4 separate regions of the Homo sapiens genome follow, and regions 1, 2 and 4 are each linked to region 3. Evidence: promoter capture Hi-C in 16 types of primary human blood cells and fetal thymus (Javierre and others, 2016). All regions are on one chromosome and are shown on one strand. Each heading gives the region's core, a stretch centred on a gene start or on the middle of the fragment in contact. The rest is flanking DNA. Distances are from core to core; before and after follow the strand shown. Region 1 holds the start of LRFN1 (leucine rich repeat and fibronectin type III domain containing 1). Region 2 has its middle 24 kb from the start of LGALS16. Region 3 holds the start of EID2 (EP300 interacting inhibitor of differentiation 2). Region 4 overlaps SAMD4B (sterile alpha motif domain containing 4B).

Region 1 (2,964 bases), core at 447-2,946, 220 kb before region 3:
TGACTCTGCCATGCAAGTTCACACACACAAATGCACAGATACAACAGAGAAACTCATGTGCCCCCTAACAGACAACCAGGTACATGCATTTACAACAGATCTACCTTGCACACTCACCAGCACACAGGGGCACACACATCTAACAAACACACACACACCTGTGCAAACATACACAAGTGCACACTCTTAAATGCCTAGACACACTCATACTTCACACATCTCCATGTTGCAAAGTTGATACAGCACCACGCTAACAGATACATACCTCACACACACACACACACACACAAAACCACAAGCATACAGATACGAGGCTGATCCACACTGGAACACGCACACAGGCACAAAAAGATCCACCTTTGCAGACACGCCAAGATGTTCACTCATAACAGACACATGCTCACACAACAGTCCTGTGATTTACACACTTCCAAATGCATAGAAAATACTGAACCACAGTAGCACAGTCAGTAGACAGGCCCAGATTCACACTCACACAGTCTTGGACACACATTCCTCCCAGCCCTGAGGCACCCCCCCACCACCCCACCTACTTACTTCCCAGGCCCAAGAAATCCTAACATCCCTGCAGCACATTCAGCATCCTGCCCTCCACACCCCCAAAAAACCAGGGCAAAAGCCAGGCCAGAGGTCAGAGTTCAGCAGGTGGAAACTCAAGAGGATTTGGGGGTTTGAGTCCTAGATCACCGTTTCAAGGAGATCCTCCCACCAGCAGCCCCAAAGGTTCCCCAGCCTGGCCATCAGGATGGAGGTAACTCTGGCTCCGTCTGCAGATGTCTGGCCGGTGGGGGAATTAGGGTGGAGTGGGTGGGGAAGGGCCGGGTCTTCGCCCCCCAACCCCCACCTCAGGGCCCATCTGTCCATTTCTCGGCCTCTCATCCCCCCTCCATCTGTCCACCTCCTGGCCGCCCATCCCCCCCCCGCAACCACCGGGAAGGGGAAGACATGGCCGCTTCCCCCAGGACCGCTAAGGACCCCCCAGTTGACATGGACCGAGGGAGCGGCGAACTCCCCTCCCCCAAATCCACACCGAGGCCTGGGCGCCGAGCCTCAGCCCCCAAGCCAGCAACCTGCCGTGGACTCACAGATACACACCCTCGGAGACATACAACCCGCAGACACACACACACACACACACACACACACACACACACAAATGGACACCCGAGCGGGCACACCCGGCTCCACAGACCCGGGGATGGACATCCAACCCGGACACAAACACCCAGAGCAGCTAGTCGCGCACGCACATGGGCTTGGGGGGGACCCACACCTGGGCACACAACCCACGCACACACACACCTGCACACAGCCCCTCCGATGGGCGCGCGACAGCGCCCAGACACACAGCCGGAGGGGCGGCCGCTCGGGGGGACACGCGTGCACAGCCGGACACGCCGGCCGGGCTCGACACCCCGCGCACACCCGATGGCCACACGGGCAGGGCGCCGCACACGCCGGCACCGGGCACACATAGGGCCGCGCGGGCGCACGCCGGGCCCGCCGCAGCGCCACGGACACACACTCGCACGCTCGCACGCTCACACCCGCGCACACACCCGCGCCCCCGCCCGCCGCTCCCGGGCCGCTGCAGGCCGCGCTCACCCAGCCCGGGGGGGCCCCGGGCCCGGCCCCGCCGCCGCTGCCTCGCTCCGCGCCATGGTGGGGGGAGGGCCGGGGGAGGGGGCGCGGTGCCGCGGGGCCGCCTCCCTCCCGCCTCCCGCCCTCCCTCCCGAGCCGCAGCCGAGCTCCGCCCTCCGCGCCGCCCGCCGCCACCGCCGCCGCAAGGGGGGAGGGGGCGCCGACTGGTGGGGGCGGCCGGGCGGGGCGGTCGCACACCCGGGATCCCCGCCCCGAACCCGCCGCAGACCCCTCTCCACTGCCGAGCCGCCGCGGGCCCGCCCCCGACCCTTCCCCAGCCCCACCCCCAGCCCCGCCGGCCTCCCCGGAGACCCCCCCAGACCACGCCCCAACTGGCCTAGGGACCCCGGATCTCCCTACAGAGACCTCCCATCACGTCCTAATACCCAGGGGGACCTCGGATCAGGCCTCACCTCTTTTGAGAACCCAGGCGATGTTCTAGGGCCACCCAGGACCACAAATCATGCCCTGCTCTCCTGCTTGACCTCAGACTATGACCCACACACTGTCAGGAACCCCAGACCATGCCCCCAAACCCAGAAGAATCCCAGATCATATCCCAGCATCCAAGGGGATCCAGACCACCCCACCAGCAACCCTAAATCATATCCCAACATTCAGATAGACCCCCAGACCACACCCCTTCCCTCACGGACCCCAAATCATACCCTAACATCGGGGGAGACTTCAGACCATATGTCAGCCAAATCCCAGATGGTGCCTGACTCCCTTTGGGGACCCAAACCACATTCTACAGCCACCAGAACCACAAATCATATTCCACTCCTTCTTGGGGACCCCCAGCCATGTCCTTCTACCCTCAAGGACCCTAACCCATTCCCTTACCCCCAGTATGAACTCCAAACCATGCCTAACTTCTAGGGGGCCCTAAAATGTCTCTTATCCCTATGGAAGACCCTTAAACTTTCCCCATGAACCCCATTAGACCCCAAACCATCTTCCACCCCTTTGACCTTACACCTTTCTCTCTCCTTCTCCTCCAAGACATCCTTTGGTTTCCAAAACTCCCCAATTAGCCCCAATTTTTTCCCACCCCCTACTAGTCCTGCCCCCTTGAGGACCCTGCCTCCTTCTTGCTCCAGTTCTTTCTCTTGGACCCTGAAAGTCCCCCCTCCCTGTGACTTCCATAGAGCCCAGAATGCCTTGCTCCTTCCTAGTTCAGACCCCTTTGCCCATCCCCTGTCCCATAGCTGAACCCCACCCCTTCCCTCAAACCCCACTGAGTATCTCAGGCCACTCTCCTTCTCTTTCTGAGATATTCACAGGGTCCCTAAACCCAGC
Region 2 (3,128 bases), core at 81-2,580, 140 kb after region 3:
TTCCACTTCTGCAACCTGACACTGAGCAAATAAGCAGAGGATGGATGTGGGGCCAACTGGGCAGTGCCAGGTGCTTCCAGTGCTTTCACTTTCACATAATTCCAGCTGAACTTGGAACCGACTTAAAAACAGGATTTGATTCCCCTTTCACTTCTACTTATGAAGACATCAATAGATTTCCAGGAAATCCCACGTGGAGAGGAAACTGATTTTGTAATTCACTGCTTGAGTCTGATGCATACTCTCTAGTTAGTATTTCAGACACAAATCACAGGAACAATATTTGCTGCTTGAGGAAACAGCTATGAAGACACTGAGAGTAGATACAGAGTGTCTTGCCTGCCCTAGGTGAACTGGCAGGAAATAAGAATCTCTGTGTCCCTGGTTGCTTTAGGAAAGTAGAAACCTATAGAGACTAGGAGAACTTTCTATAGGTGTGAGAAAGTGTGTGAGGAAAAGAGGAGGATAGTGGACAGCATAGAGATTTCTGGACTGAGACGGGATTTCGGGCGTGAATAACTGAGTGAGTAGCAGCGTGGAAGGGGCTGTGTCTGAGCTGAGCAGGGCTGAGTGGGAACTGCGCTCTCTACACTGAAACAGAGTAGGGACCTCATGGGGGCTCCCTTCCCCTATTTGGACTCCAAAGTGCACAGGTGCCTCCGCTCGACCAGGAAAAAGAAGAGGGAAATTCATATGCTCTCTGCCCTCAGTTCAGGAATGGGGGATGAACCATCCCATTTCTGGAAATGTTGAGACCCAGACTTAGCAAAGGCTAATTTGTTGATTTAAAGAGTGCTCATAGATGACCATGCCCTTCTACCATCCTCCTTTCTGACTTAGAATGGGAAAAGTCATGTCATAGAGGAGGAGCTGTGGGCTCAAATAGTGGACAAGGCAGTCAGTACTTTGCAGAGTGTCAATCTTGGTCAGAGATGGATGCAAGGCAAACCCTTTGACCAGGGCACACAATGACATGGCTTCATGAGAAGCATGGAGGCTGAAGTGCACAACTTCCCACCCTCACTCCATCATCCTCATCTGTGCCTTCCCTGGCGATTCCCTGCCCCTTGGTGTGACCCTCCGTGTCGTTTCTGCTGCAGCACAGTCACAGGCCTGAAAACTGAAACTGAGTCTATTTCTGCCACCCCTACTCACGCTGCTGAGAAATCTTCCTGGCAGGGGTTCAGAGAAAGAAATAAAGCCAGAGGGCAGGGCCAAGAGGGACTATTTAAGTGCTGCAAATCAGAGACTCACACAGAAGACCAGATACTATTCTGAAGAACTACACAGAGGGAGACAACAATGTCATCACTAAAAGTAAGTCAAAAGACACAGCCTTTAATAAACTCAATTCACATAAACCAAGAAAGAATCAGGGGTGATTTCACAAGACGAAAGTATGAGAGTTTCTCTTGTGAACACTTTACTGAGAGTTGTGGGTGTGTGAAAGAGAAACCGTGCGGCTATGATATCTGAGATGCTGGTGGAGTGTGGGGTGTGGACTCTGAACCAGTGTAACCGTCTGTGAGTGCATGGTGGTGTCTGATGAGAGTAACCTCTGCTGAGATGATGTGACTTTAGGTGGGAGGTGAACAGCCCACCAGGGTGGGCGGGTGTGTGCCTGAGTGTAAGGGTGTAACTGCGTTTTGTCTTCTTGACTGTGATGTGAGTGTGTGTGTGAGCACAGCTGGACCAGTGTGTGAGCATCTTTATATGCACAGTGAGCAGGTGTGTGAGACTCAGTGAGTGGCATGGCTCTGTGAGACTATGGGTGAGTGTGTGCTGGGATGTGACTGGGTGTTGAACTGGGAGCATGCAAGGGGCCTTCTGTGCATGTAAAGTTTCCTCCCAACACAGCAGCGCCTCTGATGAAGCAGCTGGGCACTTCCCATGTGTCAGTGTGTGTCCCATGTGTGAACAGTGTGGGTGGCAGAACTGGTGCGCCTGTTGTGAGCCATGAGTTATGGAGGAGTCATCTCTGAGCAGAATGCGTGAATCCTCAGGTGCCTCCTCCCAAGCAGAGTGGGGAAAAGGAACACAGACTATGGGGCCGATGGTTCCTCAGGTGGGGTCTGTCCAGAAAGGCCATCTGCTCCTGCCTCCAGCCTCAGGTCTCTCTGTCTCCCAGCCTGTCCATCCCATTGTGGGAGAAGAGGGTGAGCAGATCCTGGCTCACTAGGGAAGGCCTTTGGGGGATGTGGGTTCGGAGACTGAGTCGCCCAAAATAGAGAAGGAATCAGTTTATTCTTAGTTCATACAGAGCTTACAGTGCATATTAATCAATAACTTGCCAGGGTTTGTGGCTCATGCCTGTGATCCCAGTGGTTTGGGAGGCCAAGGTGGAAGGATCGCTTAAGGTGAGGAGTTTCAGACCAGCCTGGGCAACGTAGTGAGACCCTGTCTGTACCCAGAATTTAAAGATTATCCAAGCATGTTGGTGTGCACCTTCATTCACAACTACTCAGGAGGTTTTGGCAGGCGGATCACTTGAGTCCAGGAGTTTGAGGCCACAGTGAGCTGTGACCATGCCACTGCAATCCAGGCTGGGCAACAGAGTAAGATCCTGTATCAAAAAGACCCCAAACCCCAACACCAAACAGAGAAATGAAAATCAAACAATATTTAGATTACCTCCAATGACTTCCCTGGCCCACACTCTTCATGTGTGCAGGTACTGGGGCTGTGCTGCCAGCAAGGTGTCCCCTTCTGGAAAGGACGTCCATGGCCCTTGATGATTGTGATGCACACGGGGGTTTCCAGTTCTTTTAGCATTTCTCTCTCTCTTTCAACAAGTGTTGTTTCTCACTGGAGTGAATCTCTCTACTCTTACATCCTCACATCTTGTTTTCACAGCTTCAGTGTTGAAAATAATCACAGGTCGGTGTTCCAGAAGCAACCTCCCTGTTCTAATGGGTAACCCCCAACAGGCTTCATGCATGGCAGAGATTAGGGCAAAACTTTCACATATATTAATTCATATATTACTGGAAAAACCCTACAAAGCAGAAATTTCTGCTTATCCTCCTTGTCCTGGGGAAACTGAGGCAGGGAGCGTTCAAGTAATGGATCTAAGATTGCACTGCTAGTAAGAGGCAGAATGAGGACTGGAACCAAGGCAGCATGGATCC
Region 3 (3,031 bases), core at 230-2,729:
ATGGAGGAAAACAAGAATGGAAGGCTTTTCGCTGTATATTTTATATATTTTTTGGCTTGTGAATAGATTTTTTAATACCAAAAAAACTTTAAAAATTAAAAATTGAAAGAAAAAAGTCCAGAAATTTGACGTTCTTGAAAACATGATTTATCACATAATATATACATTTACTTTGCTTGTCACTTGAAATGCCTAAGAAAACACAAAATCAATCTTAAACTAGAAACTTCTATTGAATATGACATGAAGAGAGCACATATTCCGACAATTTCAAGTTCTTTTCATAGCCTTCCAGTCCTAATAACTCAGCGTTAACATCTTATTCTGTTCAGCACTATTTGATAATTTCTTTCATCCTCATGGGCTCTAGTATTGATGTTTCATCAGTCTCAATTTTATAAAACCATCCTTTACTTTGTAATAAAGCAATGCTGAGAGACATTTTCCATAATGCAGGGGGAAAAATGTGGATCAATCACAAACTCAAAGAACGTTACAGTTATAATGCTTTCGACATTTTTTTCTACTTCTGTGATGCTTTTTCAAGATAAGCTTCCCCCTCCCCCTTTTTTTCCCCTCCACCTGTGCACTGTCTTATCGCGATATACTCTTGACTTCTGAAAATCAAGTTGCAGGATTGGTATGACTGGAATGCAGAGGTTCTCTTGAAGTAGTGTCACCACATAACTATTCTCTATTGATAAACTTATCGCAACCAAGTTCTTCTATCAGAGGGTTGATAACTTCAGAGGCAGTCAGAGCTATCGTAAAGGTTAAAATATCGAGGTCCACCCTGTGAGGATTTCGCTGATATTCGGCATCAAACGCTGCTTCCCTTGCTCTGCAGGCTTCCACGAATCGCCTGCGGCGTTCTTCAAGCTCTTGTATTCTGCCGGGAGCAATCGGGTAATTTTCCAGATAGTGGCGGAGAAACTGCTGGTAATTGATGCCTAAAACGCTAAGTGGGTGGCGGAGACGGAGATAGGGCAACGCAGCCAGGCCTCCGTTCCCGTGTCTGGACCTGGGCCTGCCCTCGGGACCCTCTTCGTCCACTGGCTCCCCCAGCAAGCGGGCGACCTCCGCCATCCGGGCTTCCCTGGCCGCCGCCGCCGCCGGGCTTTCCCTGCCCGCCGCGGCTGCCCTGGCCAACGCCGCCGCTGCCACCGGGGCTCCCCTGGCTGCCGCCGCCGGGGCTGCCCTGGCCGCCGCCATCCGACCTTCCCTGGCCGCCGGCACCGGGCCTCCCCTGGCCGCCGCCATCGCGCCTTCCCCGGCCTCCTCAGGCTGTGCCGGGGCCGGCTCCCGCCTCCCGCGGCCTACCTCCGCCTGCGGGACGTCTCTGTCACCATTCGCCGCGCCTGTCTGCGGGACACTGCTGTCTGCGGGCAGCTTGGACATCTCAGACCGTGGGGTCAACTCGGCTGCTCCCAGAGAAACTGGAATAACTGGACAGAGCGATGCCCGGCGGACACCCCAGTGCGCGTGCGTGGGCGCTATGCGCGCTGTAAATGCAGTGTGCGTAACCGGGCGCGAGAGCATAGATTCTTACCGCAAACCCTGGGAGCAGTGCGCATGCGTACTTTCCCGGCGCCCGCCGTTCTCCAGATGCCCCCTCGAGGCCGGGAAGCGCCAACGCATCTGAAACATCCCAACGACGAAGGGCGGGGGACATTTCAACCAGTTTGATGTTTATGAGGAACGCTTACAAGATCGCTTCTTGTAGGCGTTCTCAAGGTTCTGTCCTAGGGTGTTTCTCTTTGTTCTCCAGTGATTATGTGCCACCTCTATTATATATCAAGATATTTTAGATTCATGGTCTTTTCTGGATTTTTAAATTGTTTTTCATTCATTCCTTTGCCTGTCTTCATCCATACGGATCGTCCTAGCTACCAAAGCTTTGTAATTACAGTCTTTTCGTGTTATCTTTAACATTGCATTGACTACCTTGGACATTTGTTTTTCGAATCTTATTTGTGCAATATAACATGCAGAAAAGTAAACAAAACATAAATATACAGCTGAATGATTTATCACAAAGTGAACATCCGTTTAACTACCACACAGTCCAAGAAGTGGAATATTTCCAGCATCCCAGAACCCTTCCTCTTCTTCTTATCACTATCCTTTCCTTTCTACGCAGAAGTAACAACTATGCTGATACTTATGGTAATCACTTTCTTGTTTTTCTTTTCATTTTACCACCTAAGGGTGCATTCCTAATGCTGTAGTTTAGTTTGGTTTGTATTCTGAACTTTATCTATGTGAGAAACACACTCACCTGCGTAATTTTTGTATTTTTAGTAGAGACGAGGTTTCACCATGTTGGCCAGGATGGTCTCGATCTCTTGACCTCGTGATCCGCCTGCCTCGGCCTCCCAAAGTGCTGGGATTACAGGCGTGAGCCACTGCGCCGGCCACTTTCTTCCCTTTTATGGGCTGACCCCGCCTCTACATTCTGTTCCCTTATTGTGACCTTCTAGGTGGATGAGCCCTGCAGTTTGTTATATTTGCAGGCTGGCTGCCAGTACTTAGATTTATCATGCCTCAGAAATGGACCATTTAAAATGTTTTCTCACATACACACTTGTATCTGTTTTTTTGTGCATTATTTTTATGAGATTCATCCATTCACATTTTCTCTTCCTCCCTCCCTCCCTCACTCCCTTCCTTCCTTCCTTCCTTCATTCCTTCTTTCTTTCATCTCATTCTGTTACCCAGACTGGAGTGCAGTGGCACAATCACAGCTCAACGTGGCCTCAACCTTCCGAGCTCAAATAATCCTCCCACTTCAGTCTCCTGAGTACCTGGGACTACAGGTGTACACCACCACACCCAGTTAATTTTTAATTTTTTTGTAGAGACAGGGTCTCCTTATGTTGCCCAGGCTGGTCTCAAAGTCCTGGGCTCAAACGACCCGCCTGTCTCAGCCTCCCAAAGTGCTGGGATTATAGGGTGAGCCAGAGCACTCGGCCTCCAGCCTACATTTTCATTATGGTTTATAAATACTTTATTTTCTTGATAGTTATTATAT
Region 4 (3,352 bases), core at 146-2,645, 190 kb before region 3:
GATGTGAGATTATGCCAGAAGATCCTTAGAAACATATTTTGGGTTCTGTACCCTGCAACTCAGTCTCTGGCTTGCTGAGCCAAATAGGCCTGTGATTCCATCCGATGAACTTTCTGAGCAGTGATGGCAATCTCCCTCCCCACTGTCCCCCAGCCGCAGTCATTCTCTGCTCTGTGATTGTTTGGGTCTAGAGAGAGCTTGTGGCTGGTCTGACTCAACCACACTTTGCTTTGGGATATCACGGGTGATATGAGGTGATCAGCCTGGCTTGATGGTGGCCTCAGGGGAGCAGAATCCAGGAGTAATGGCAATACCCTCACCACAGTTTAAGGTTTCCAAGACACAGAACTTTGGAAGAGAGTTAAGTAGGATTGCTGTGAGTGGAGTTTTGTTTTGTTTGTTTTAGTGTAAACTTGTTGAATAGAAGCGGGTTCAGGGCAAGTTACAGAACAGCAGTGTATGGAGTATGCAAGTCTCAAATATCTCCAGCCTGCACTCATTCATTAATGCATGGAGGCACTATTCTAGGTACTGGAGACAGAGCAGTGAATAAAACATTCAAGGTCCTGAAATTCATGGAATTTATATTCTGATGGGGGGAGGAAACAAAAAAATCAGAGTGTGATTCATGCTGTGAAGGAAATAAAACAGTGTGAAAGAGAGGGTGGGAGTGGCCACTGTAGTAGACAGGGGGATCAGAAGAGGCCTCTTTTGGGAGGTGACAGTTGAGCCTGATAACCAGAAAGATGAGAAGGCACCAGTTGTGGGAAGATCTGGGAGTGGAACATTCTAATCTAAGCATTGTTACATGCAGAAAAAGGACCTCTGCAAGGTGGGGAAATTTATCACAGATATTTATTGAGGGCCTGCTATGTACCAGGTGCTATGCTAGGAATTGGAGATGTAGCAATGAATAATATAGCTACAGTCTTCCCTTCTCTCATGGATCTTACAGTCTAGGTGTTTTTGGAAGAGCTGCAGCCTTTGAAGAAACATCTCTTGATGATGATATCATAGACTCCTTCCTACTGGGCAGATGAGGCAGAATGGGGCACAGGTGAGCCCAGATCTGATTGATGAGAAGGAACCAACCTTGTGACGGTCCGGGGAAGAGCATTTCAGGCAGAGAGGTCAGCAGGTGCAAAAGCCCTGCCATATGTTCAGGGAATCGCAAGGACCAGTGTGGCTAAAGCCTAAGTGAGGGAGAGGGGTGAGGGTTGGAAAGGCTGACAGAAGCCAGATTACTTGCAGCCTAAGGGCCACAGTAAGGAGTTTCTATTTTCATTTAAGGGGATTGGGAAACTATTAGAAGGGAGTTTTTAAAAGCAAGACAGCGACATGATCTGATTAATTTTTTTAGAAAGCTCACTTTGGTTTCTGGGAGGAAAACAGAGGGTCAGGACAGAATCAGGAAGGAAAGTTAGGAGACAATCCATTTGTCCAGATGAGAAATGGTGACATGAATGTGGTGGTGGTGGTGGTAGTGAAGATGTAGAGAAGCAGATATATTTTGGGTGTACAGAAAACAGGACTTGATGATGGGATTAGAGAAAGAGAGGAATCTAGAATAATGATAATAGCCAAGTCATTTATGCCTCACAACTCTATGAGAGTAGGCACTATTATTATTTTCTGTCTTCCTTCTCAGTAGGTACTATTATTACACCCACATTACAGATGACAAAACAGGCATGGCAAGGTGAAATCACTTGCCCAAAATTACACAGGTAGTAAGTGGCAGGCTTATATTTCCAACCCGGCAGTCTGGTTCTAGAGCCACTTAGGTTTGGGGAAAGATAAGCAAGGCATGTGTAGCTGACATTAAGAAAAAAGAAATATCAAGACCTAATGACTGGGTCTTTGGGAAATGGAAGAAGTCAAAGATGACTCAAAAAAATGTCTCAGTTGTCCACAGAGAGGTGATGATTGAATCTACAGGAGTTAATTACATGCCTAAGTGAGAGAAAACAAGTGTAAAGAAGGGAAAGGAAGCAGAGAATAAACTTTTCGGGGGGAAGGGGTGTCAAGACATTTAGGAGTGGGAGGAAGAATGCTAGCTTCCTCTCTATTCCAGAGTTTACCGGAGCTCCCCATACTGTACTTATCTTCCAGGAGGCCCTGCCTGGCTTCTCCTCTCCTCTCCCTCCCTTCCCCAGCACCATTCATACAAAAAGCTCATTCTTTGCTAATGCAGTGGTGTACATGTTTTGTGTACGTATTTCAGGAGTTTCTGGAAATAATGGTTGATTCTTATAAGAGAAGTTGTGCTCCCTTGGCTTCTGACAGTCTCTTCTCAGGTTATGAAAGTGAGTTAACCCTAGGTAACTAGCCTGTTACCTTGTTCATGAAGTGTAAGTTCTCAAAGGCCTAGGTCGTGCTGTAAAAAGAACTAGGAATGGGTAAGAAGGCAGATAGGATCCCCTTATTCATCCAGAGATGTTGGTATTAAAGGGCCCTTAGGCCCAACTTTCACCTTGTTGCCCAGGCTGGTCTCAAACTCCTGGGCTCAAGCGATCTGCCCACCTCAGTCTCCCGAAGTGCTGGGATTACAGATGTGAGCCACCATGCCCAGCTTTCTTGCATTGTTAAGAGCAAGCAAGAGCTCTGAAGCCAGACTGCCTGGCCTTGAAAATCTCAGCTTGGTGTACAGTCTTGGGCAAAGTGACTTAACTTCTCTGTGCCTCAGTTGCTCCATCTGTAAAATGATAATATATTCATATATGTATGTTATATATTTTTGAAATAGAGTTTTGGGGATCAAATGTGCTTATCTGTGGAAAGCTGTTGGCAAAGGGCCTGACAATGTATGATGTATGAAGACATGCTAAGCATCATGCTTGCTATTGAAATGAAGTATAGAGGAGGAAAAAAGCATCATGCGCGGTATTTTTAAATACATTGTTTCATTTAATTCTTCTAACAAGCTTCATTGAGGAAGAAACAGAGTTACTTGTCATAGTCAATACAGCAAGTAAGTATAACAGGAGAGCCAGGATTTAAGCCAGGTCTGACTAACTCCACCATCCTGCTTCTGAATGAAGAGAGCTGGACTCCAGAGGCACTGTTTATGGGCATATGGGCCTTTTCTCACTGTTTGGGGCCAGAGAAGAAGCCCAGAGGGCAGTTTGTCCTGGAACATCTCAGCATTTTTTTGTTTTTGTTTTTGTTTTTGTTTTGAGACAAAGTCTCCAGTCCCCCAGGCTGGAGTGCAGTGGCGCAATCTCAGCTCACTGCAACCTCCACCTCCCAGGTTGAAGCGATTCTGCTGCCTCAGCCTCCTGAGTAGCTGGGATTACAGGCGCCTGCCACCACGCCCAGCTGATTTTTTGTATTTTTAGTAGAGACAGGGTTT

The links. The method cuts DNA at HindIII sites, captures the fragments that hold promoters and counts their contacts. A CHiCAGO score of 5 or more calls a contact.
Region 1: the fragment with the promoter of LRFN1 here is called in contact with the fragment with the promoter of EID2 in region 3 in 1 of 17 cell types (naive B cells); the score reaches 5.1 in naive B cells.
Region 2: a fragment that was not itself captured here is called in contact with the fragment with the promoter of EID2 in region 3 in 3 of 17 cell types (naive CD4 T cells, activated CD4 T cells and non-activated CD4 T cells); the score reaches 6.5 in naive CD4 T cells.
Region 4: a contact is called between a fragment that was not itself captured here and the fragment with the promoter of EID2 in region 3, in 2 of 17 cell types (monocytes and naive B cells). The highest score is 6.4, in monocytes.

The regions. Positions count from the first base shown.
Region 1 is chr19:39,319,167-39,322,130 of GRCh38, forward strand. LRFN1 (leucine rich repeat and fibronectin type III domain containing 1) reads right to left here and starts at 1,697. Exons shown (of 5, transcript NM_020862.2): 1 at 1,627-1,697. RefSeq lists a silencer at 1,286-1,545. The HindIII fragment of the contact is 24,527 bases long and covers 1-2,964 here.
Region 2 is chr19:39,678,118-39,681,245 of GRCh38, forward strand. It overlaps the pseudogene LGALS17A. Among named protein-coding and RNA genes, the nearest start is that of LGALS16, 24 kb to the left of the region's middle. RefSeq lists an enhancer at 1-106. The HindIII fragment of the contact is 6,903 bases long and covers 1-3,128 here.
Region 3 is chr19:39,538,682-39,541,712 of GRCh38, forward strand. It overlaps EID2 (EP300 interacting inhibitor of differentiation 2), which reads right to left and starts at 1,480. Exons shown (of 1, transcript NM_153232.4): 1 at 26-1,480. The coding sequence starts at 1,398. The coding sequence ends at 688. RefSeq lists a silencer at 1,185-1,264 and an enhancer at 1,236-1,735. The HindIII fragment of the contact is 1,343 bases long and covers 551-1,893 here.
Region 4 is chr19:39,347,333-39,350,684 of GRCh38, forward strand. The region is part of intron 1 of SAMD4B (sterile alpha motif domain containing 4B); the gene reads left to right. Among named protein-coding and RNA genes, the nearest start is that of SAMD4B, 6.6 kb to the left of the region's middle. The HindIII fragment of the contact is 3,053 bases long and covers 1-2,922 here.